7 separate regions of the Homo sapiens genome follow, and all the other regions are linked to region 1. The links are contacts of gene promoters, found by promoter capture Hi-C in blood cells and fetal thymus (Javierre and others, 2016). All regions are on one chromosome and are shown on one strand. The core of a region is centred on a gene start or on the middle of the fragment in contact, and the rest is flanking DNA. Distances in the headings are between cores, read along the strand shown. Region 1 holds the start of UTP3 (UTP3 small subunit processome component). Region 2 holds the start of UBA6 (ubiquitin like modifier activating enzyme 6). Region 3 holds the start of ANKRD17 (ankyrin repeat domain 17). Region 4 overlaps ANKRD17 (ankyrin repeat domain 17). Region 5 overlaps ANKRD17 (ankyrin repeat domain 17). Region 6 overlaps YTHDC1 (YTH N6-methyladenosine RNA binding protein C1). Region 7 overlaps YTHDC1 (YTH N6-methyladenosine RNA binding protein C1).

What was found. Contacts are between HindIII fragments. The CHiCAGO score rates a contact against its expected background, and 5 or more counts as called.
Region 2: a contact is called between the fragment with the promoter of UBA6 here and the fragment with the promoter of UTP3 in region 1, in 4 of 17 cell types (non-activated CD4 T cells, total CD4 T cells, activated CD4 T cells and 1 more). The highest score is 15.6, in non-activated CD4 T cells.
Region 3: a contact is called between the fragment with the promoter of ANKRD17 here and the fragment with the promoter of UTP3 in region 1, in 3 of 17 cell types (non-activated CD4 T cells, naive CD8 T cells and total CD4 T cells). The highest score is 7.8, in non-activated CD4 T cells.
Region 4: a contact is called between a fragment that was not itself captured here and the fragment with the promoter of UTP3 in region 1, in 6 of 17 cell types (total CD4 T cells, naive CD4 T cells, naive CD8 T cells and 3 more). The highest score is 9.6, in total CD4 T cells.
Region 5: a contact is called between a fragment that was not itself captured here and the fragment with the promoter of UTP3 in region 1, in 1 of 17 cell types (total CD4 T cells). The highest score is 6.3, in total CD4 T cells.
Region 6: a contact is called between a fragment that was not itself captured here and the fragment with the promoter of UTP3 in region 1, in 2 of 17 cell types (activated CD4 T cells and total B cells). The highest score is 7.9, in activated CD4 T cells.
Region 7: a fragment that was not itself captured here is called in contact with the fragment with the promoter of UTP3 in region 1 in 1 of 17 cell types (non-activated CD4 T cells); the score reaches 7.1 in non-activated CD4 T cells.

The regions. Positions count from the first base shown.
Region 1 is chr4:70,686,947-70,690,201 of GRCh38, forward strand. It overlaps UTP3 (UTP3 small subunit processome component), which reads left to right and starts at 1,586. Exons shown (of 1, transcript NM_020368.3): 1 at 1,586-3,255. The coding sequence starts at 1,732. The coding sequence ends at 3,171. RefSeq lists enhancers at 511-1,481, 862-951, 1,482-2,450, 1,652-1,711. The HindIII fragment of the contact is 6,672 bases long and covers 1-3,160 here.
Region 2 is chr4:67,699,625-67,702,879 of GRCh38, forward strand. UBA6 (ubiquitin like modifier activating enzyme 6) reads right to left here and starts at 1,531. Exons shown (of 33, transcript NM_018227.6): 1 at 1,425-1,531. The coding sequence starts at 1,495. It overlaps UBA6-DT (UBA6 divergent transcript), which reads left to right and starts at 1,654. Exons shown (of 2, transcript NR_015439.1): 1 at 1,654-1,860. RefSeq lists silencers at 1,255-1,424, 1,555-1,624. The HindIII fragment of the contact is 4,018 bases long and covers 1-2,465 here.
Region 3 is chr4:73,257,300-73,260,554 of GRCh38, forward strand. ANKRD17 (ankyrin repeat domain 17) reads right to left here and starts at 1,499. Exons shown (of 34, transcript NM_032217.5): 1 at 977-1,499. The coding sequence starts at 1,369. ANKRD17-DT (ANKRD17 divergent transcript) reads left to right here and starts at 1,867. Exons shown (of 5, transcript NR_187399.1): 1 at 1,867-2,109. RefSeq lists a silencer at 1,191-1,590 and enhancers at 1,552-2,148, 1,751-2,020. The HindIII fragment of the contact is 8,436 bases long and covers 1-3,255 here.
Region 4 is chr4:73,219,595-73,222,849 of GRCh38, forward strand. The region is part of intron 1 of ANKRD17 (ankyrin repeat domain 17); the gene reads right to left. Among named protein-coding and RNA genes, the nearest start is that of ANKRD17, 38 kb to the right of the region's middle. The HindIII fragment of the contact is 3,013 bases long and covers 1-2,983 here.
Region 5 is chr4:73,082,766-73,086,020 of GRCh38, forward strand. It overlaps ANKRD17 (ankyrin repeat domain 17), which reads right to left. Exons shown (of 34, transcript NM_032217.5): 30 at 2,484-2,681. Among named protein-coding and RNA genes, the nearest start is that of COX18, 15 kb to the left of the region's middle. The HindIII fragment of the contact is 7,936 bases long and covers 1-3,255 here.
Region 6 is chr4:68,317,383-68,320,637 of GRCh38, forward strand. It overlaps YTHDC1 (YTH N6-methyladenosine RNA binding protein C1), which reads right to left. Exons shown (of 17, transcript NM_001031732.4): 12 at 2,741-2,823; 13 at 1,444-1,480; 14 at 1,308-1,347; 15 at 1,137-1,199. Among named protein-coding and RNA genes, the nearest start is that of YTHDC1, 31 kb to the right of the region's middle. The HindIII fragment of the contact is 189 bases long and covers 1,698-1,886 here.
Region 7 is chr4:68,333,942-68,337,196 of GRCh38, forward strand. It overlaps YTHDC1 (YTH N6-methyladenosine RNA binding protein C1), which reads right to left. Exons shown (of 17, transcript NM_001031732.4): 4 at 3,086-3,255. Among named protein-coding and RNA genes, the nearest start is that of YTHDC1, 15 kb to the right of the region's middle. The HindIII fragment of the contact is 2,637 bases long and covers 408-3,044 here.

The DNA.
Region 1 (3,255 bases), core at 336-2,835:
TTTTTATTAACCTAATGACACTATACTTTCTGAAAAGAAATTGTCACCATTGGCTGGGCGCGGTGACTCACGCCTGTAATCAATCCCAGCACTTTGGGAGGCCGAGGCGGGCGTATCACGAGGTCAGGAGATGGAGACCATCCTGGCCAACATGATGAAACCCCGTCTCTACTAAAAATACAAAAATTAGCTGGGAGTGGTGGCGCGTGCCTGTAATGCCAGCTACTCGGGAGGCTGAGGGAGGAGAATCACTTGAACCAGGGGGTCGGAGGTTGCAGTGGGCCGAGATTGCCACTGCACTCCAGCCTGGCAACAGAGCGAGCCTCCGTCTCAAAAAAAAAAAAAGAAAAAAAGAAAAAGAAAAAAGAAACAAAAAACAAAAGAAAAAGAAATTGTCACCATTAATTTTATTTTATTTATTTATTTATTTATTTTGAGACAGAGTCTCTGTCTGTCGCCCAGGCTAGAGTGCAGTGGTGCGATATCGGCTTACTGCCACCTCCGCCTCCCGGGTTCAAGTGATTCTCCTGCCTCAACCTCCCGAGTAGCTGGGATTACAGGTACCCGCCACCACGCCCCGCTAATTTTTTGTATTTGTAGTAGAGACTGGGTTTCCCCATGTTGGCCAGGCTGGTTTTGCACTCCTGACCTCAAGTGATCCACCCACTTCGGCCTCCCAAAGTGCTTAGGATTATGGGCATGAGCCACCGCGCCCAGCCATGTCACCATTAATTTTAGCAACGTATCAAAAGTTCAGCTTCCAACTACCTACATTAAAAGGTATAATAATACTAACCCTGAACCTTACATATGTAATGCCTAAAAACTTACACCCTGAATTACTCTAACATTACAGGGCAGACTTCCTTGAGAAGAGTCAGACCCTGCAGCGGGGCTCTGCCTTCCCACTGTCAGCCTCGGGGTCATCTAGCTTTATCGATCCCCATGGAGCGGGTCACCGAGCCCTGTGAGCAGGGAGAGGGCGATGGGGATGAGTAAACCCGAGCCGGAGGCCCGGCCTGCGCTCTCGCCCGGAAACCTCCCGTGGGATTCTGGAGTCCAGCGGCGCTGCCTGAGGCTGTGGTACCCAGAAATATGGTATTGGGGGTGGGGGTGAAATGAGAGGAAAGCAATCTGATTAACTTCCAGCCTGATAAGCAGAAAAGAGAAAACAAGGGAGCAGGAAAACTACGCTAGCACTAGACTGCCGGTCGCAAGCGCCGGGTACACACGCAGTTAAACCTCAATGGAACGCCCCCGGGACTTCTCCGGGGCGTAAAGCGCAGCGCCCTCTATTGGCCATCGGGACCTCGCCTGGAGGTGCCGTCAGGATTCCGTCCCCCAGCCACTCCCAGGCACTCGAGAGTAAGCGCATTAGCCCGAGAAAGCGTTCTGTGGAACGGAACTTCCTTATCCTATCGTTTCCACACGGAAAGATTTTAATTCACCGGAATCGACTGGCGTTAAAGGGCACAGTGAAAAGGAAGTTGGTATCAACGTGATCTCGACTAAGGGACCGAGCGGAAGTCCTCAATCGTACGCCACGCGGAGAGCATGCTGGGGGCCGGAAGGAAGAGGAAATTCCAGTAGCCGATCAGGAGTCTGCAAACTCCGGTGGTAGGGGAGCGCGCTGCTGTTTAGAGCCACGAGTTACCGGAGCGCCTGATTCCTGCGCCGAAGTCAGTGGTGGCCGAAAGTCCGGAGTCGCTGTAAAACCTGAGATTGTGAGCCATGGTGGGGAGATCCCGGCGGCGCGGAGCAGCTAAGTGGGCAGCTGTGCGAGCCAAGGCAGGTCCCACGCTCACCGACGAAAATGGAGATGATTTAGGATTGCCACCCTCACCAGGGGACACCAGCTACTACCAAGATCAGGTAGATGACTTTCATGAGGCACGATCCCGGGCCGCCTTAGCTAAGGGCTGGAATGAAGTACAGAGTGGAGACGAGGAGGATGGCGAGGAGGAGGAGGAGGAGGTGCTAGCCCTAGATATGGACGATGAGGACGACGAAGATGGAGGGAATGCGGGGGAGGAGGAGGAGGAGGAGAATGCCGATGATGATGGTGGGAGCTCCGTGCAAAGTGAAGCTGAGGCCTCTGTGGATCCCAGTTTGTCGTGGGGTCAGAGGAAAAAACTTTACTATGACACGGACTATGGTTCCAAGTCCCGAGGCCGGCAGAGTCAACAGGAGGCAGAGGAGGAGGAAAGAGAGGAGGAGGAGGAGGCACAGATCATTCAGCGGCGCCTAGCCCAAGCGCTGCAAGAGGATGATTTTGGTGTCGCCTGGGTTGAGGCCTTTGCAAAACCAGTGCCTCAGGTAGATGAGGCTGAGACACGGGTCGTGAAGGATTTGGCTAAAGTTTCAGTGAAAGAGAAGCTGAAAATGTTGCGAAAGGAATCACCAGAACTCTTGGAGCTGATAGAAGACCTGAAAGTCAAGTTGACAGAGGTTAAGGATGAGCTGGAGCCATTGTTAGAGTTGGTGGAACAAGGGATCATTCCACCCGGAAAAGGAAGCCAATACTTGAGGACCAAGTACAACCTCTACTTGAATTATTGCTCGAACATCAGTTTTTATTTGATCCTGAAAGCTAGGAGAGTCCCAGCACATGGACATCCTGTCATAGAAAGGCTTGTTACCTACCGAAATTTGATCAACAAGCTGTCCGTTGTGGATCAGAAGCTGTCCTCAGAAATTCGTCATCTGTTGACACTTAAGGATGATGCTGTAAAGAAAGAACTGATTCCAAAAGCAAAATCCACCAAGCCCAAACCAAAGTCTGTTTCAAAGACTTCTGCTGCTGCCTGTGCTGTTACAGATCTTTCTGATGATTCTGATTTTGATGAAAAAGCAAAACTGAAGTACTATAAAGAAATAGAAGACAGGCAAAAGCTAAAGAGAAAGAAAGAAGAAAATAGCACTGAAGAACAGGCTCTTGAAGATCAAAATGCAAAGAGAGCTATTACCTATCAAATTGCTAAAAATAGGGGACTTACTCCTAGGAGAAAGAAGATTGATCGCAATCCCAGAGTGAAACACAGAGAGAAGTTCAGAAGAGCCAAAATTAGAAGAAGAGGCCAGGTTCGTGAAGTTCGTAAAGAAGAGCAACGTTATAGTGGTGAATTATCTGGCATTCGTGCAGGAGTTAAAAAGAGCATTAAGCTTAAATGAAGTTTTTGCTTAGCATAAGGTTTTTGGCAGTTTTGGATCAATAAATTTTTACTTTTAACTAAAGTCATTGTATTAATATATAAT
Region 2 (3,255 bases), core at 281-2,780, 3.0 Mb before region 1:
GGGTCTCTCTCTGTCACCCAGACTGGAGTGCAGTGGCACGATCTCGGCTCACTGCAGCCTCGATCTCTCTAGACTCAAGCGATCCTCTCATCTTAGCCTCCCGAGTAGCTGGGACTACAGGCGTGCATCACCTACGCCCAGCTAATTTTTTTGTATTTTGTAGAGACGCGGTTTCGCCATGTTGCCCAGGCTAGTCTAAGAACTCCTGAGCTCAAGCGACCCGCCTGCTTCGACCTCCCAAAGCGCTGGGATTGCAAGCGTTTGAGCCACTGCGCCCGGCCAAAGTTTTTTATTATCTACTTTCCTATCATTTTATCCCTAGTACACTTTCACTTGCTGTTTTCCTTGCATGGCGGGGGCAATAGGCCTGGTGGGTAAATCTGAATAAAAACGAGAACAGCTGCAGTCTAACTAGCTCTGCCACTTAATGGCGTGACTGGCCCTTTTCAGAAAGTTGTGCCTCACTGGAATGTTTCAAAAATATGTAAAAATAATATGATCTATAAGACAATCAAAAACGCTTCAAATAAGGCGCGGGTTATATTACATAATATCCCTCCACTCTGGCAGTGTTGGCAATGGCAGACAACACCATGAAACTGAAAGCATCCCTTCAGTCTGAAACTGGCGAAAAGGCTACAGGTTTACAAAGTCTCACATCAGCTGAAAATAATACATCCATCAATTCTATCTTTGGCATGGTGTATTCTGACAGTGGTGGATAGAATGTAACCACTTGCTTTATTAATTATGAGATGATTGAAAGAGGAACTACTAACCAAGAAATTGGTAAAGGCCTAGCACAAATATTTTCCCCCTAATTTTACAGGGGCGGGAAAGACCTGAAGAACTTCAAAACCAAGTGGGAAATAAGAATGGGTAACTTGTGTATTTTTTTTTCCTGGCTTTTTTTTTTTCCTTCTTCCGAAGTCAACAAAGGCCTCAGGGTGTCCAGATTGCTACTGATTCATTCTTACCAAGTTCCTTCTGGTAATAGTTTTCAAAAGAGGATCTCAGTGGAGGTGCACAGTGGCGCTCCTAGCTTTCTTTTTACGGAAAGGAGGAAAGGTGCTTGGCACCAGTCGGGGAAGCTCACGCCAAGTGACCGAGACCAGAACTCGCTCTCGACCGGAGCCCCCCAAGTCTGGTGACTTGGAGGAAGGAGGATCCCGAATCCCAGCCAGAACTGAGAAAGCCCTCAAAGGTGCGGAAAGGGGACTTTTCCCTCAGGAAAGCCGGCAACAGCAGAGGCCCTAGCCCACGTCGCCACACCCACTCCGCGCGCGCCCCTCGCCTCCCAGGGCCGGCTCTGCTCGGCCCCGCGGCCTCTCGGGCGCCCCCAGCCCGCCGGAAAGAAAGAAGCAGAAACCCGGAGCCTGGGTCCCACCCGCGACCCCTCACCTTCGCCCTTCTCGTCCTCTCACCTGCCAGTCCCCCAGGAAGAACAGGACGCCTCTTCCCCCTGATGGGCGGCCACAGGCTCGGATCCTTCCATTGCCGCCTGAGACACCGCCGCCGGCTACTGGAAGGTAGGAAGGGGCGGGACCGTGGGGGGGTCAAGGGGCGGGCGGAGACGTCATCAGAGGGGGCGGGCCTGGGGAAGCTAGGAGCCCGGCAGCGCCTTCCCGTCAACCCTAGGGGCGTCCTGGTTTCCGGTTTGGGTGTGGCCGCATGGCGTGCTGTGGTGCAGGTGGCCGAAGGGGGCGTTACTGTTGCGACTGGCATCCGCATCCGGCAGATGTAGATGGAACCAAAGTCCAGAAGTTACGCGTCACCCTTGCTCTACAGCCAAACATGCAGGACTCTAGTAACCCGCGAAATGATGGGATAGCGTTGCAAATCCTTAAAAGAGTCTTAACGGTAAGAAGAGGAAACAGCTTTATTTTATAAATAAACTGAAGGCTGCTAATAGCTCCAGATTGTCAGTGAGGGGATACCACTTAAAGATGTTATACATTTAATAAATAATTTTGGGAGTCCACTACATGTGAGGCGCTGCCTCAGATTTAATAGAATCATGTGACTTTTAGTGCCATAGATGTCGTTAGATCATCCAGTTTGGTCCCTTAAATTTGTGGGTAAGGGAAAGGAACTTCCGGTCAGTGCAAGTGACTTGGTCAAGGTTATAGAGCTAGTCACTGTTAGATTACCAGAACACATATCTAAAAAGTTCTCATATAATTCTTTTTCATTTACTTCCGTGTCACCTTTCTTAGAAAGCAAAAATGAGTTGGACACAATAACATTAGGATTTGTCTTTCACTAAATAACACTGTATATTTGAATAAACATCTGCAGGATTTTTAAAATTAGCATATACTTTGGGTATTATGTAATTTTCTGTGATGTATCATATTTTTAATTAGAAATTTTTCCTCTCATATGGAGATGAGGGTCCAGGCAAAACTGTATTATCCTTCGTGCCCTCTATTCTCTTCAAAATTGCACATCTTAAAATACCTGGAAGCTTTATGTTGCTCACCTATAGCATTATCCGTGTTCCTCAATCCAGTTGTGAACCTTTTCCACATTAAAATGTTCTTGATCTGTGTTCTATTCTTTCAAGGCTCTGCTCTAGCACTAAGATAATGCTACAGGACTGAAGATAATGAAAAAGATTGAAGAAAGCAGAAACAGAACAAAAATCAGATTATTTCAAAGTTTCTTTCCTTGTAAAGGTTAAAACAGAGCATACTTCCTTATTATGCCCACTAGGTTAACTAGAATCTCCTGTTTTTTTAAAAAAAACTGGCTCATTTTTTCAAAATCCACTTTAATTACATGGTGCTTAGCACAAGCAACTCCATTCTGGTTTGATCTGATGGGGCCTAGTGTAGAAGGCTAGGCCAAAACAATGGCCTGCCATTACCCACGCTTCTTCATATTTTAACATCCATGAATAGAGGATGAATTTTTAAAAAATAAATACAGAAAACGATGCATCTTAAAATTGAGGGCATGTTAGATTTGATAAAATATGGTGTGAATTATTTCAGGCATGTAACAAGCAACCAGATTTAACAGATTTTAATGTTTTGTCACATATGTAAAATGGGAAAGAAAACTAGGCGATCACAGCTTTTTGACAGTGAGGCTTTATGTCATAAGAAAGTAGAATGACATATTGAGGAAACTTAAGGGAAAAATATGTAGGCCAAAGATTTTACATTCAGCAAAACTAATATACAAAAGGTACAAACTGTTATCAACAATTGATATATCAATTTGGTGAGACTAGTGTTTTCATGAGCCCCT
Region 3 (3,255 bases), core at 249-2,748, 2.6 Mb after region 1:
CCTTTGGGTTGTAAGGGCTTCTGTGAGGAATAAGGTCCTGCAACGCCGCCTGTCTGTGGACCCAGGAAAAATTATAAAGTTATTATGAAACCAGATCACTAGGACAAACCGAGAGGCCTTCCTATTCCAACTCACCACAACCAGGCCTGGCTCCAAAGCCTACCCTTTGGCTGTCCCATATTACGGGACAACAGGTCCTAGCTTAATTCTAACTCACTAAGGAAACATTCGAAGGCATGTATGTATGTACGTGTAAGGATCAAATATATTTTTCATCCACTTACAAATGTATATGGTCATTTGTAATTATTTAAAGTTACTGATAAATTTATACAAATACAGCATCAGTTCATCGAAAATCCCTGGGAGATCGAGGAAATGAAGTTACTTCAGCAGCCAGGATAGTTACGAAAAACCCTGCAGAACAGTATGGAAAAGTACAGCTTCTCACGTGTCCCTCACATACACAAACACTTAGCTCTGAGTCCATTACAACCTTACGTCCCCCCTCAAACTGCTCCCCTCCACCTCACAACTGGGAGAAGTTGATCAACCTCCTAGTTGGTCCCCAAGAGACTCATTTACCCATTATTTTACTCCTCCCGCTTTGATCCCGATCCCGCCTCAGACTAAGGTGGCCCTACTGGCCCCAGGCAGACCACCCCCCCACCCCCCGGCGTGCAAACAGGGAATCTAACCAATTCCCTCCATCCTTAACCAAGTGAGCCATCCCATGATAACAGGCTGTTCACCAACTCTGTGAACTCCGTGGTCCTCCCACCCCCACGTGTCAGCTACCCTCCCCCACATTCCCACACCTCACGATTTAGGCCGAGGGAAGAAAGGGGGCAGTCGAAAGCCTGGCCCCTAAGAGATCAACCCACTGGAATCTGTCCCACTCCAAATCCCCTCCCACCTTCGGCCCCTATCCCTTACAGTCCCTTCCTCCCTCCTTCCTTTGAAACCAGGCCCTTGCCTCAGAAACCTCCTCTTCCTCGTCGTCGTCGTCCTCTTCTTCCTCGCTGTTGTTACTGCTGGTGCCGCCGCCGCCACCTCCGCCTCCACCGCCGCCTCCACCGCCGCCGCTGTTGTCGCTGTCGCTGCTGCTTTCGCTGCTGCTGGGGGGTCGGCAAGTCCGGTTACGCTTGGCCTTGTGGTGCTGCTGCTGCGGCGGCTTCTTCTTCAGGAGCAGGTCGCAGACTCGCACCATCCCACGAGGAGACGAGGCCGAGCGAGCTCTGCTGCTGCCGCCAACGCCGCCGCCGACCTCCGCCGCCGCGGGGGGGCCCGCCACAGCCGCCACCGCCGGGGGGCTCCCTTCTCCTTCTGCAGCCGTCGCCGCCGCCACCGGAACCGTCGCCTTCTCCATCCCCAGGGAAAGAGGGAGGGCGCGGACGGGGGAGGGGCGTGGGGCTACGCTCTACCGCGACTTCGGCCGCACTGGGGCCGACACAGCAATCGGTGCCGCCTCCGCCGCCACCGCCTCGGTCACCTCTACTGCCGCCGCCGCCGCCGCCGCTCCGCCAGCTCTCACCTCGTCTCGCGATACTAAGGGCGGGGAGCCTGACGATGGGAGGGAGGGAGGGAGGGAGAGGGAGGGAGCAAGGGAAGGAGGGTGAGGCGTAACAGGGAGACCGGGTGTCGGGAGAACCAGAGGAGAGGAGACTGGAAAGAAGCGGGGAAGTGTGCCTGGGGCAGCTTCCGAAGGGGAACGGCGGGGACAGATGAGGGGGGCGCGATTGCAACCAGAGCGCCCGCGAGCTCCCGGATTTCTTCTCTTTCCTCGCTATTTCCCGCACACACAGCCCTGCAGCCCTCCCTTCTTCCTTCCTGGCTTGTGATTAGAACGCAGCCGCAGGCGGAAGTGCAGTGACGCCATCAGCCGTCGCCTGAGCCGTGGCGCGCGGGTGGCCGAAAGGCGAAAGTGAGATTTCAAGGGCCGGGTCTGGGGCCCCGCGGGCGCGCAGTGCTGCGGCGTGTGGGGAGTACGGGGAGGCTGGAGAGGAGCCGGCCCCGGGCAGTGTGAGGTGCGGAAGCGCGGTCCAGACACTTTGCTGACGGGAGGCCGGTCCGCCAGATCCGGGAGGTGGGGCCTCGTTCTGGACTGCTGTACGTAGTTTTATTCCTGGTCATTTTTTTCCACCGCCAAATCGAGAGATAGAGCTTTGGATCATGAGAGATGGCGTCGTGTTGGGAAAAGAGCCTTCTTTACCTGAGTTTAAGCTCGGCTCATAGACATCCTCTACCTGAGTTTACACGTGTGTAATATGAAGGCAGTCGATTAGGAGATGTCTAAGATCATTACTTACACCTCAAGTTTCCAAGGGGAGGAAGACACGGGAAGGATGCGTGGTCTGTGCCAGACTTTGTAGACGATTCACTGAATGACCCTGATTTAGCTCTTCCGGCCCTCTTCGATTCAGCTTGGAAGCAAGCATAAATAGTGATTGTTGTCTGTATACTTCTCTCGGAAGGAATGCTGTTATGGGAGTTGTGGGTTCATTTTTAGGTGTCTGAAGAAGTTTCAGGACTTTTGAAATGATAGTGGAGCCCATTGAACTCAGAATTATCCCTTTCTGGTCTAGTAGGAGTATAGTGGCATACGGAAAATGAAGCAAACATCAAAGACAGATGTACTGGCACAAGATTAAAAGTATGTCTCAGCTGACATAGTTGCCATTTTAAGACTGCTTAGTTTAGCTGAATATGCCTGGATTTTTTTTTTTTTTAGCATTTTTTTTCTTTTTAGCATTGGCATACCATATGAAATGTGGGCAGTTGCCAGTACTCTACAGAGTACCAAGGCAGAATTGGCAATGACTAAATCAATTCATTCAAACAAAAATTCATCATGTGCCTACTGTGCGCATAATTTGTGGAATCAAAGTCTCTTGTTTCCAGGGGCTTTACAGTGTAATAAGTGCTATAGTAAATATATATACGGAGTGGTAACCATCTGCCTATTCCTCTCCTACAGTCGTTGCTGAGTTCCAGTGTAGAACAGAGCACTGCATTGTGTATCTCACCACTACTGATTTAGATTTTATAATTTCAGCTGCATCCCTCCCTCCTACTTTGTATATTCTTCAGCATCTTTTTCTCCCTTTCCACTTGAATACTTTTCGCAATCTTTAAATCCCAGCCCATTTTATTATATGACTTTTAACTTAGACTTCACAATTTTCCAAGTGCTAGAAATTTCCTGAGATTGCCTTTTCTCCAGTATCAACGAATGAGAGACTCCCTGTTCATATA
Region 4 (3,255 bases), core at 227-2,726, 2.5 Mb after region 1:
TAAATCTGAACCTTAATTCAGTTCCAACCTAAAGGGTTCAGTCAAATCCTCAACCCACTGTCCATAGACAGAACCATAGAGAGTTGGCACTTTTATTTTATATACCACAACCTATAACATCAAGTACAGATGAAGCTGGACATCCTGGCTTTAGATGACAAAAGAATAAGAACGGGTATGAGAGTTATTATTACACTTAACAATATAAACATTTTTATTTTCATAAAATTTCCTACTTTCTTAAAGCAAAAATATATCAAATACTATACCCAGAACAATCTGAACTTAATCAAAATTAAAGGATGGAAATATCTGTGAAGATTTCTTATTACTAAGACTCCTAAAACTGGCTCAATTATAAATAATAACACTAAATATACAGTAACCAAGTTTCTGAAATGATCTCTCAGTTGTTTCATGTTTTCATATAAAAAAGCCAACATATAAACCACAGGTTTATATACACAGCCCTTGGCCATGTAAATTTGGGATATAAAATTGGAAGACATTTTTCCTCTTATTGATCATTCTAAGTAGTACAATCTATTGTTACACATAATTTTACAGGAAGGTCATCAAAATTCTAAAATTATAATCATGTCTCAGGAAAACATAAACAGAACAAGAAAAGAGGTATTTATATGAGCTGTCAGCCCTTTTTCTGCCATCTGTATATGGCTACTTTCCTGAGTATTAGTTCCTTTTACAGAAGGTAGGCAGAAGGAACGGAAATACTTTGATGCCTTTGGTTTGGAGAAGAAAATTACTGCCTGGATTATTTGAATAAATGAAATAGCCAAGACACTCTATTTAATCCCTTACCTTGGACTGTTGAAAAGCAATGATGTAAGTTGAAATCCACCTTTTCTAATTTTATTATACATTTTAGAGAGTATTTTACTTAAGATTTTAAAGGTCTAAATAGTCAACTTAAATATATGTGGGCATATATAATCAGTAATCACAGTTTAAAAGGTAAGCCATAGTATTATGAGAAATCATTTGTGTTATGTTCACTAATGATATTGACTTTTGTTAACTAATATTCAATAAGAGTACCTTTAAGAAGTTTATGATTCAAAAGATCAAGTTACAAAGACAGGAAAAAAAGAGTCTAATATTTATTCAATGCAAATAAGCATAATCTACATAAAATTCCGTATGTTCAATAAATAAAATCACAAAGGTGAAAATTACGGTAATGAACTTCAAGTAGCTCAATATTAAGTACAATAATAAAACTGTCACTGTGGTATACAGATGAACTTCATTATCCATTACTGGACATTTATTCAAGGAGTTATCCCTGTGGGGGGTAGAGGGCTAGGGAATATATTTTTCTGGAAAGCTCATTATGTAATAAATATCTGTTTACTTGCAATATGAGGTGCTTTAGAAAATGGTACATTTATCTGCAAAGTTAGCAAATTTATTCTTTGCACTCTGTATTTTTAGCACTGTGTCATTATGAGTACTTATAACTTTGGATAAGGCTCTTTTATTACTACTTAGAAAATGTTACCAAGATTGACAAATATTTAAGTCAAATGATATTTTAAATAAAGAGAAAAAGCTACTTATTTAGTATGATAGGATGCAACAGGTACATAGAAACTAAATTAAGATAAATTGAGAATTAGGAAAACTAAAATTGCAGAGGTTGTTTTAATAACTAGCAACATTGAATAAATAAGGTAACATGAAATCTTAACATGGTATTAAACAATTGAGATAATAAAAAGCCAGTTGTTCAGGTAGCATTAAAAAAACCTATGCATAAAGCACAAAACAGTGCTCAAGTAGGATTTCCTCAGAACATAAATAAGACTTCTAAAATCTGTTATATGCTGAAGTTTTAAATGGCTAAGAAAAATTGTCAAATAGATTTATCAAAATCTCCAAAGCACACTTCTTTAAAATCCAAACCAAAAAATTTTAAAAGCAAATTAAAATGTAACACTAGAACTCTGTAATCTAATTAGGCTTATTTAAACTGAACCACTAAAAAGTCATGTGGCCACTTGTAATTACTAAACTCCTTTGATGAAAGTTTATACTACTATTTCTAAGTAGATAATTTTACCACACATTTTTAAGGAAACTCACTAATAGAAACAAAGTAAAAAATAAAAGAGAAAAGAATAAAAATTAACCACAATTCAACTTAGACCTAACAGCTTTTAGGAAAGGGGAAAAGAGCACATTGGCAGGTGTCTGCAAGGAGGTAGGTAATAAATGGAATCAGTTTTCATTCTGCAGAACAACCATGAGACTTGCTGCAATGTCAGCTCCAAGCACACACTGAGGGACTCCAGAAAATACTCATTGATCATGCAGCACTTTATAATGCGCATAGGCTTTTTTCTCCTGCTAACCCCGCCTAGCTTCCCTTTGCAGCTTCTTCTCCCAAGCCCTCTCCCCACAGTAAAATAATCTTCCTGAAGATGTGAAATAGTTAATAAATTATCTCAACAGTCTAAGTATTAGGAATACCACTCACCACCATAAAGCCTCTTTATCTGAATTACCCAGGTTTTATCTAATGAGGAAAAAAAAGAAAAACCCTACACAATCCCACAGATAAGAATATGAGATTTAAATACCTATACCTATAAATACAAATTTCTAATAGTATACTACATTCAATGCCAAAAGCAATTATAGTTTCACTTTGACATGTATTTCCTTGGACTGATTTATACTCAAATAGGATCTTATAAAATTTTTACAACCAGAAAAGAGAAAATATAATTTAAAATGTTCATGATTCAAATTATAGTAATTTTGTATTGATGTCTCTCTAGCATCAGTGCCCTAAATTTCAGGGTTTTAATATTTTTAATTTAATAATTTGTTTTATAATAATCAAAGTCACATGAAAAATCTAGGACCAGAGTATACCAGCTAAATTAAGCAATCAGATTGATATAAACATGCTTAGTTTAAAGCTAAAATAACCGTTTTTAATAGTTAACTGCAGCAAAGCTTTAGGCTTAGATATGTAAATGAATTCTAAGACATATGATACTAAACCTTACTCAAAGCTGCTTTGCAGACCCCACCTTCTAATGAGTTAATCTAAAGGTCACCACCAGCACAAGGCTTTTTATTAAGCCTGAGTCTCCCCTTTTTCCCTAACAAACATATATCTACAATTTATGAAACATGAAGTTTAAACAAAATAATTATAGACGTCTATAGTAATCATGTGAACCAGTCTGAAACATTCTCACACGGAATAGGTCTGACCGTGTC
Region 5 (3,255 bases), core at 507-3,006, 2.4 Mb after region 1:
AGATTATTTGAGACTAAAGAGATATGGGAATTAAGTGTAACTTGCAGTCCTAATTAGAATCTTGGATGAGAGAAAATAATAAAGTTATTGAGATAACTGATGAAATGTAAATATGCACCATATATTAGATAATAATATAAAATGTAAAGTTTGCTGAATTTAAACACTGCATCATAGTTGTTGAAGGGAACATTCTTATATTTAGGAAACTAAGTTATTTAGGGGCAAAAGGGCTTGACGTCTACAACTAACTGTAAAATAGTTCAGGAATAAAATAATTTTACACACACACAGAGGAATATATGATGAGGAAAGGAAGTAATGCAGTTTAATTGGTGAATCTGGGAAAAATATACAAGGGATCCTTGTGGTATTCTTGAAAGTTTAAAATTATTAATTACAAAATCTGAGAGACATAATCAAATGCAATATGTGAGCCTTGAGTGGTAGTTCCTGGTTCAAGAAAGAAACATCTATAAAAAACGTTTTGGAATAATTGAAGATATCTGAATATGGACTGATTAATTCTTACTGAATTCATGTTAACCTATTAGGTATTTGACAATGGTATCATGGTTGCATAAGAAAATATCCTTATTCTTAAGTGATGCATGTTTTTAGGTCTGAAGTGTCATATCTGCACCTTATTTACAAATGGTTCAGCAAAACAGTAGAGAGAGAAAATAAATATAACAAAATAATTGGGAAATTTAGGCGAAGGAAATATGGATATTCCTTGAACTATTCTTTAACTTTTCTATGGGTCTGAAATTTTTTGTAACAAAATAGTTACTGGAATGTGGCAACAATAAAAGCAATTGTAATGCCCTCAATGATACTCTGTATTTACAATATAGCACTATATTCAAAAGCATGTATTAAAAAACCTAACCTGGGTGGTGTGGTGGTACACGCCTGTAATTCCAGCACTTTGGGAGCTGTGCAAGGATAATTAATATTCTATATGACTGCCACTATTTGACAAACACAAGAAAAACTATGAATATATAAATTCATTGCAGGCTACAATTTACCTCATGCTTTAACTGGCAATGTACTCTGACATGTATCTCTAAAATAATTATAACTCTTTACTCTTTCATTAAGTTAATTAGGTTAACTGTTATTTATTCCAGTATTGCTAGTTAGAAGAAATTTGATAGTTAAAAAAAAAAACAAAACAAAAAAAAAAAAACCGAAGTCTTACTATAACTTCCTTAAGGGATAAGCAATTTCACATCTTTACCTGGAAAACAAACATATCCAACCTTACTACAGAATTCTCTTAGTTGAGTTGAATTCTCTATTGCTGACTGATCTTCATTAGTTTGAAAATCTAGGCCTGGTGGCTCACACCTGTAATCCCAGCAGTTTGGGAAGCCGAGGTGGGCAGATCATGAGATCAGGAGTTTGAGACCAGCCTGGCCAATGTAGTGAAACTGTCTCTACTAAAAATACAAAAATTAGCCAGGTGTGGTAGCACATGCCTGTAGTCCCATTTATTCAGGAGGCTGAGGTGGGAGAATCGCTTGAGCCATTGCACTACAGCCTGGGTGACAGAGTGAGACTCCATTTCAAATAAAAAAAAGAAAGAAAGAAAATCTAATCACTGCTTCAAAAGTCTGCCTGTAGTTAAAAAACACATGTGATAATGTGAAATCTGTTGTGTTGTTAATGCAGATGAGATTTTTTTTTTTTTTTGAGATGAAGTCTTGCTCTGTTGCCCAGGCTGGAGTGCAGTGGTGTGATCTCGGCTCACTGCAACCTCCGCCTCCTGGGTTCAAGCAATTCTCCTGCCTCAGCCTCCCAAGTAGCTGGGATCACAGGTGCACACCACAACGCCTGGCTAATTTTTGTATTTTTAGTAGAGGCAGGGTTTTGCCATGTTGGCCGAGCTGGTCTTGAACTCCTGACCTCAGGTGATCCACCCGCCTTGGCCTACCAAAGTGCTAGGATTACAGGTGTATGCCACTGTGCCCAGCCTAGATGAGATTTAAAGGTGGACTAAAAGGATGTAATTTTCACTCAAGGGTAGAAATCTTTCTCCTTGGTACCTGTATTCTCAAAACTAAAAGTAAACATAAATTAATAACAGGTACAAGGATTAATTTTTTTCCCCCAAAAAATGATCCCTCAGGACAGGTGTGGTGGCTCACACCTGTAATCCCAGCTCTTTGGAAGGCAGGAAGACTGCTTCAGCCCAGGAGTTTGACGAAACCAGCGAGGGCAACACAGTGAGAGCCTGTCTCTAATAAAAATAAAAAATAATAAAAATCCCTCTTAGAAAAACTTCAATATTTTAGGTTTGATAGAACCTAGGTTGATTCTAATCATTTAAATACCTAGAAATTTTTTTGAAATTCCAGACTTCTAAGAGTACAAATTACCTTTTTATGGTATTAAAATTATGATGAGGTTTGAAACCTGCTGTTTTTAAGAAAACATATGCAGATTCTTATGGAATTACGGTGTATAAAACTCACCATTTGATGCTGATGAACACGGAGTCAACAAACTAAGCGGGGAAAAATGTTGTCTGTTAAAGTTAGCAGCTGCGGGTGCTCCTCCAAGGGGTGCCCCAGGTCCGTACATCTGACCTCCTGAAATGTTTGAAGCAAAGTTTCCCAAATGTGTTGAAGAAGGTGTTACAGAACCATATGGCGAGTCCATATTGACAATACCTATAATGTAGAAGGTCATCATAATTTATAATAGTTACTCCTGCAAGAAATAGAGATACCTTAAAATTCTAAAAGGCCCTAAATATATTCAAAACTATTTTAGATAATTAAAAAAATCCCGGCTGGGAGTGGTGGCCCACATCTGTAATCCCAGCACTTTGGGAGGCCAAGGTGGGAGGACTGCTTATGGCCAGGCATTCAAGACTGGTCTGGGCAACACATCGAGACCCCACCTCAAAAAAAAAAAAAAAAAGTTCCTGGCTGGGTGTGGTGGTTCATGCCTATAATCCCAGGCATGAATCTCACTTTGGGGGGCCAAAGTGAGAGGACTGCTTGAACCCAGAGTTCAAGGCCAGGATAGACTGCCTCTACAAAAAATTAAAAAAAAAAAAAAATTAGCCAAGTTTGGTGGTGCGTGTTTGTAGTTCCAGTTACTTGGGAGGCTGAGGTGGGAGGATTGCTTGAGCCCAGGAGGTTAAGGCTGCAATGAGCTGTGATGGCACCACTGCATGCCAGCCTGAGTGACAGAGTGAGACCCTGTCTCACACACACAAAAAACTAAACTATGTAGATA
Region 6 (3,255 bases), core at 542-3,041, 2.4 Mb before region 1:
GCATATAATAGTATAAAACTGTATACCTTAAAAGTGAAACAAAAGTCAGATGAAGAGGCCATATAACATATTGCATTTAAAAAAAGACATAAATTAAAATGTAAGAAAACAGTAGAAGCTACTTCAACTTCCAGGTTTTTATTTCTTGAAAATTAATGCTTCAGCTATCTTCAATATCTTAAAATATACTCTAAGACAATTCAGTTTTCTTAAAGGAAATAATTAAAAAGCAGGAATAATCAGGGTTTAATTAATCTTATTTTACACAGAAAATTTAGTGAGTATTAGATCAGGCACTATGCTAAACTTAACATGTACTTTGTAAATTTATCTTGACAATGAAAATGACACTACTACATTAAATTTTAAGCTATACCAGGACAGTCATGATGTCAATTTCATTCACCATGATATAATCAGAACAAGCACAGTGCCTTGCACAGAGTAAGTACTAAATATTATATTTGATAAGACAAAGCATCAGTGAATGCCCATGGAATTTTACAGATGAGGAAAACTAAGAGTTGTATTAAGAAATTAACCCAAAGTCACAGAGTTGGGAAGAAAAAGAAATATATCTGAACCCAAGCGGACTTTGCACTACTAATTACTACCATAATACACTATTACAGTTCTCAAGCCTGTACTATTAACACAAATGAGCTTTTAGTCTTTAGTTTGAAAGACAGCATACAATTATTTATCATCAAAAATCTGTATTTTAAGTCTTTTTGAGATGGAGTCTCCCTCTGTTGCCCAGGCTGGAGTGCAGTGGCGCAATCTCGGCTCACTGTAACCTCTGCCTCCTGGGTTGAAGCAATTCTCCTGCCTCAGCCTCCCCGAGTAGCTGGGAGTACAGGCACACGCCACCACACCCAGCTAATGTTTTTTGTATTTTTAGTAGAGACAAGGTTTCAGTTTCACCGTGTTGGCCAGGCTGGTCTCGAACTCTTCACCTCAGGTGATCTAGCCGCCTCAGCCTCCCAAAGTGCTGGGACTGCAGGTGTGAGCCACGGCGCCTGGCCAGTTTAAGTCTCTTTAATGAGTAACTGTAACAATCATATTCCGAGTAAGCACCTGAAATACTAGAACTGCAAATTAAGTTATGTAACTTATAAAAATAGAATAATACAAACCATTCCTTGCCAAGGTGGTGGTGGTCCCATGTTATGAAATTCCCTCACATAATCATTGTAGGACTAAAATAAAAGATGATAATGTCAATATAATTAAAAATTATCACAGAACTGCAAAATAAATCAGAGCCTGATTTTATCCACATTAAATAGATAAAATGAAATGCTTACCCCATTTAAAAACACATCTCGGCGAACTCCTGAAAATCGTCTGTTGGGAATAAGATTTGTGAAACTAAATTCAGGTAATTCATAAACTAGTTCCAAGAATGTAATTCAAAACTAGGCAAGAGTGAACCCGACTTACCTGTCCACTTCCTGGTATCGTGGATCCTTTAAATACCCTGTTCAAACATCAAGCATTTTAGTAAATCAAATTTATATTTTTCTTTTATGGCATTATAATTAAACCTTCCTTACCACTCGTTTCAATTCTTTCCATGAAATATGTACTTTAAGTGATGCTACTACTGTATTATCCCATTTTCAAATTTTCTTCTCAGATTACATGATAATCTAGGAAATAACTAATGATATCATAGAATTGTAAACTGCTAGAGAAGCTTTCAGATAGGTATCTTCTATGTTCACACTCCAAATCTTGCTAATCAGAAAATTTCTTCCTTCTGCTTCACAGGGAAGGTAAGGGCAGAGGAACTATCTTGAGCACACTATGACAGGACTTCCTTAAAACAAATGTTTACTTTCCACCTTGGGTATATGTAGGTCTTACCAAGAAAACCACAGATAAGCTTTTTAAAATGTAAACTTAAGGGGGAGGGGGAAAAAATTGCAAAAGTTGCAAAAATGAAGATGTATACACTGAAAATGAAAAATCGATGGTGGTTAGAAAAATATTCTTTCCCCTGCTTCTTTTAATAAGAACCCAACAAATTAAAATGTAAAAACATTTGAGTAGTCATGTTACTGGGGAAAAACTATTTTCACTTTCTACAACAGGACAACCTATTTTGGAAGAATGAGGCTAATCAAGCCACTTGTTACATAATAGTGCTATAATGATCACTAACATCAATCTCCTAACTGCCTAAGTTTCACAAGTGTATCACTGACTCTCTTCAAATACATGATATCCCTTCTTGAATATAGTTTGCTCTCTTAAATTTCAGTAAGGGATAGATTAATTGAAAAGCTACATTTAGATTACATACCGAGTATTTCCCATTCCTCTCCAAAGACATAAAGATTTTTATTTAAAAAAAGTAGCATTGTATGTATATGTATCACATGAAACACTAACTACCATAGGGAACAAAAAGCCTGATAGAATATAAGGTTATTGCTTTTCATAACTACTTTTAACCTTAAACACATGTGCAGATAAGTTTCCATTTTTGCAAAATTAGCAATTTCAGGTAATTCATAGGGTATGATGAGTTACACTGGAATAGACTAGACAACCTTAACGAAGTTAAGGGAAGAATTACACTAATGAGAACTACTAAAATTTCTCAAGATTTAAGTAGTCAGGTCCTGAATTTTTTTCACTTTTAAAACTGCAGGATTGTGAGGGTTGTTTTTAATTTTTTAATTTTTTTCCAATAATTTGAAATCAAATATCTGCAGGATTATAAAATATTAACCTGGTCTCTGGTGAAACTCAGGGGGATAGTCAATCCTTGGTTTCTTTCTGCTGTTATGAATATCATAATCTTCTGGTCGACGCCTACACAAATTAGACACATTAGAAATTAAACCAAAAACTGCTGGGAGAACAAAGAGTAAAGCAAGAGTTTCTGACAGAGATAAGTACAAAGAATAACCCATTATTTAACATCTTAATTTTTTTAGTGAGCAAATTATTTTAAAATTCCTACATTTTGATTCTCAAATTAATTCCTATAAACCAAACTTTAAATGTACTGCTGGAAGTAGATATTCTCTGCCAACTCATGCTATGATGAGAAAATTGCAGACTAGTCCAATCAAAACATGTAAGTCACATTTTAGTAGTCTAAACAAAAGTAAACAAAGTCATTCTCAAACTAAATATCAGTTTTAACAATTAAAACACTTTCCCAAATAAAGTCTCCATTCAGATGAAAAATAAAAACTAGAAAAACCTATCATCATTGTACAATATGTAACTCTAAAATCT
Region 7 (3,255 bases), core at 476-2,975, 2.4 Mb before region 1:
TTCTCCTTAGCCATTTCCTCCCTGGATTACTGCTCTTATTTTCAAATTCAATTTAAAATTTATCCCTACAATTTTAATGGTAGCCTGTGTATTTCTGTAAGAGAGCTGAAAATCTTCAGTAAATAGAAAAGGTTTGGATTACCTGCCATGTAAGAACCAGTCCCAAGCTTAATTTGGAACTTTGTAAGCATATACATGAGGACTTGAAATGGAATTCAGCTCTCCTATCTGTTTATTTTTATCTTAGTTTTACCATGATAAGCTCCTTTTACTTTTCAGCTTAGAGATAAGGGAATAGGAAGAAAAAAATGCATATACTTATTTTTATATAAACAATGGAAAGCTGAAAAATAATAATCAGTGATCATGTATACAATAACCTACTATATAATGACAGCTATTTAAAAAGCTTTAACTACTTATCTCCTTTAATTCTCATAACAAGTTCACAAGATATTCTCATTACAGATGAAGAAACCTTGAATTAGACAGGCAGTTAGGCAACTAGACTAGGGTCCCACAGTTCCTGGATGGCAGAACCTAGACTCAAGGGCAGGTCCTCTGGCTTGAGCAAGTAGAAAGGATGTTTTATACTATTTTTGAAAGGTGATTACAGGTTTAACTAGTTTTGGGGGCTTTTTTCATTATTTCTTTCAAAAGTTCTGACATGTTTCTTCTAATTTTTCCCCCATGGATATTTCTTTCAGTAGTCTAAGCATTATGAATGCATCTGACTGAGTGTAATTTATCTCTTGTTGCTGTTAAAAAAGAATTATTTCATGGTCCAAAGTACTAAAAAGGGCCTGGTGCAGTTGCTCGTGCCTGTAATCCCAGCACTTTGGGAGGTCGAGGCAGGCGGATCACTTGACCTCAGGAGTTCGAGACCAGCCTGGGCAACATAGCAAGACCCTCTTTATATAAAGACAAAAACAATAATTAAAAAGTTACTAAAAAGATCTGAGATAATGCAGGGAAAATAACAGAAGCAGAAGATCCTACTCAATTGTTTTTATATAATGCTAAACCTAGCATTAGCATGAGAAATCTCCAAGGAATTTTCATCATTTTTGTATGAATAACTCCCAATGCTCTTAAGTTTATGGCCCTCTCCCCCAACTATTACTCTCAGGTCAAAAGAACAATGAAAATCATCTAATAAATAAACTGTTATCAATCAGTCTGTTGCTTTTATAAAGTTACCAAAAATTCTGAGAATAAGGTAAAATGAACTGGAATCTAGAAAATTCATGACAGAGAAACTCAACTGTGATCACTTTTATTTAAAAACTGACGTCTCTTAATCAAGAAGTTCCAAAATCACCCCATTACTCTTTCATAAACTATTGTATAAAAAAAAATTTCCTGCATATTAATATAGTACCTAAAGCATGTTCCACATAAGGGATTTTCCTTTATAAGGAAAATAAAACTTTCAGGTATCTCTTTTAGAATAAACCTAGTCTAGTAACAGAGTTTTGATATCAAGATTTATTATAAAACTACAGTTACCATTTAATTTGAAATGTCTTCTCCACAAAAACAAAGTGTGTCAATCAAGTTACCTTACTATGGTATCATCTAGGAGCCTGTTACAAATGCAATTTCTGGTCCTACCCATTTAAGTAAGTTCCCTTTGTTTAATGTAAACAATACAAACATTAAAGTCTAAGAAATAACAGAGATACCAAAAAGAAGATTCCTACAACAAAACGTTCCCTACCCAAGGGAGTGGTTTCATACATTCTCCACAATAAATGAACATTCAACACATACTGCTAATGAAATATTTATTATCTTAAATTATAAAAAATATATCCTATCAGTTTGTAAAAGGCATGATGGAAGCATAAAGATTTCATATGTTTTTACAACAAATCCAACTACTCATCTATTCTGTTTAACTCTACCTCCCTTGAAAAGCCTATCTTAACTCCCAAACCTAGAATTCTAGTGAACAAAAGGTTGAAAGCACTTCAGTTGCCAATCACTAGAAAATAACTGGCCATCTGCTCTACCTATACTGTATGTAGTATAGATATATACTATCCATATAGTATAAATATATAGTATAAAATATATAGTATAGATATATACTATCTGTATATAGTATAGGTAGAGCAGATGGCCAGTTATCTTCTAGTGATTGGCAACTGAAGTACTTTTCTATACTATATATACTATATATATAAAACAATGTACTATTATAAATGATCAAATTCTATAATAAACTGTAAATGTATTTCAAAAAAATAGGAATTTTCTTATGTTTAGTACATTTTGCTTATGTAGCAATCTGGTAGCATCTTTACATAAGACAGTCATGAGATTATAATCATCATATAGTGCTCTGTAAGTACCCTGACCTCTCCTTGCTGTACCCTCCCCCAAGAAAAGTTCCCCTAAGCCTAGTGCCTCCAACTACGTAACAGTCATACATTTTTGTCTCATAGGTATAGAGAGGCAGGATATATATAGCATTGAAGAAATGACTGAAGATGGTTCTTACCTGATTTTTCCACAAGAATTTTATTTATAGTCTTCATCTCCATCTTATACCTTACACCCCAGCCCTCTTGTCGACCCTGTCTCAGCCAGTCAACTGACAGACACAAAATTAGAAGAAAAGTCTGTGCTCCCAGAGATAAAAAAGAAATAATCTGTTTTGATTCTGAAGCCATATGATGGAAATCTAGGGGTATTTTACCAAGGAAATACTGTAATACCCAGTGGACAGGTTTCCTATGAATATACTTCAAGTACATCAGTGTTTAAATAAACTGCTGACTGGTATGAAAATCTAAGAATTTACAGAAATCTGAAATACATTTCCTTATACAGAATCAAATGGACTTGTGTTCATTTACAACACAACCATTCTGTAGCTAGGAAATGCCTTTCCTAAAATATGTAAATCTTATCCAAGATTATTCAAATGTATTTATAACATTCAAAAGCATATAAAGGATCACAAGACAATCCTATTAATATCCCCCATCTCCTCAACAATTTTATAATTTAAACATTTTCAAGACTGAAACCTATCAAGCTTTTTTTAAGACAAACTTTTACATATAAAAAGTAGTACCTGATCCATCTGTGCCTGAACCAGATCTGACAGACCCATCTGTGAAGGAAACAGATTCAGAACCAGAGTCACTGGCCTCACTTCGAGTGTCATAATCATTTCCCTCCTCTTTCTGGTCTCTCTCATCCTGTTCATATTCTTCTTCTTCCTCCTCCTCCTCCTCCTCTTCC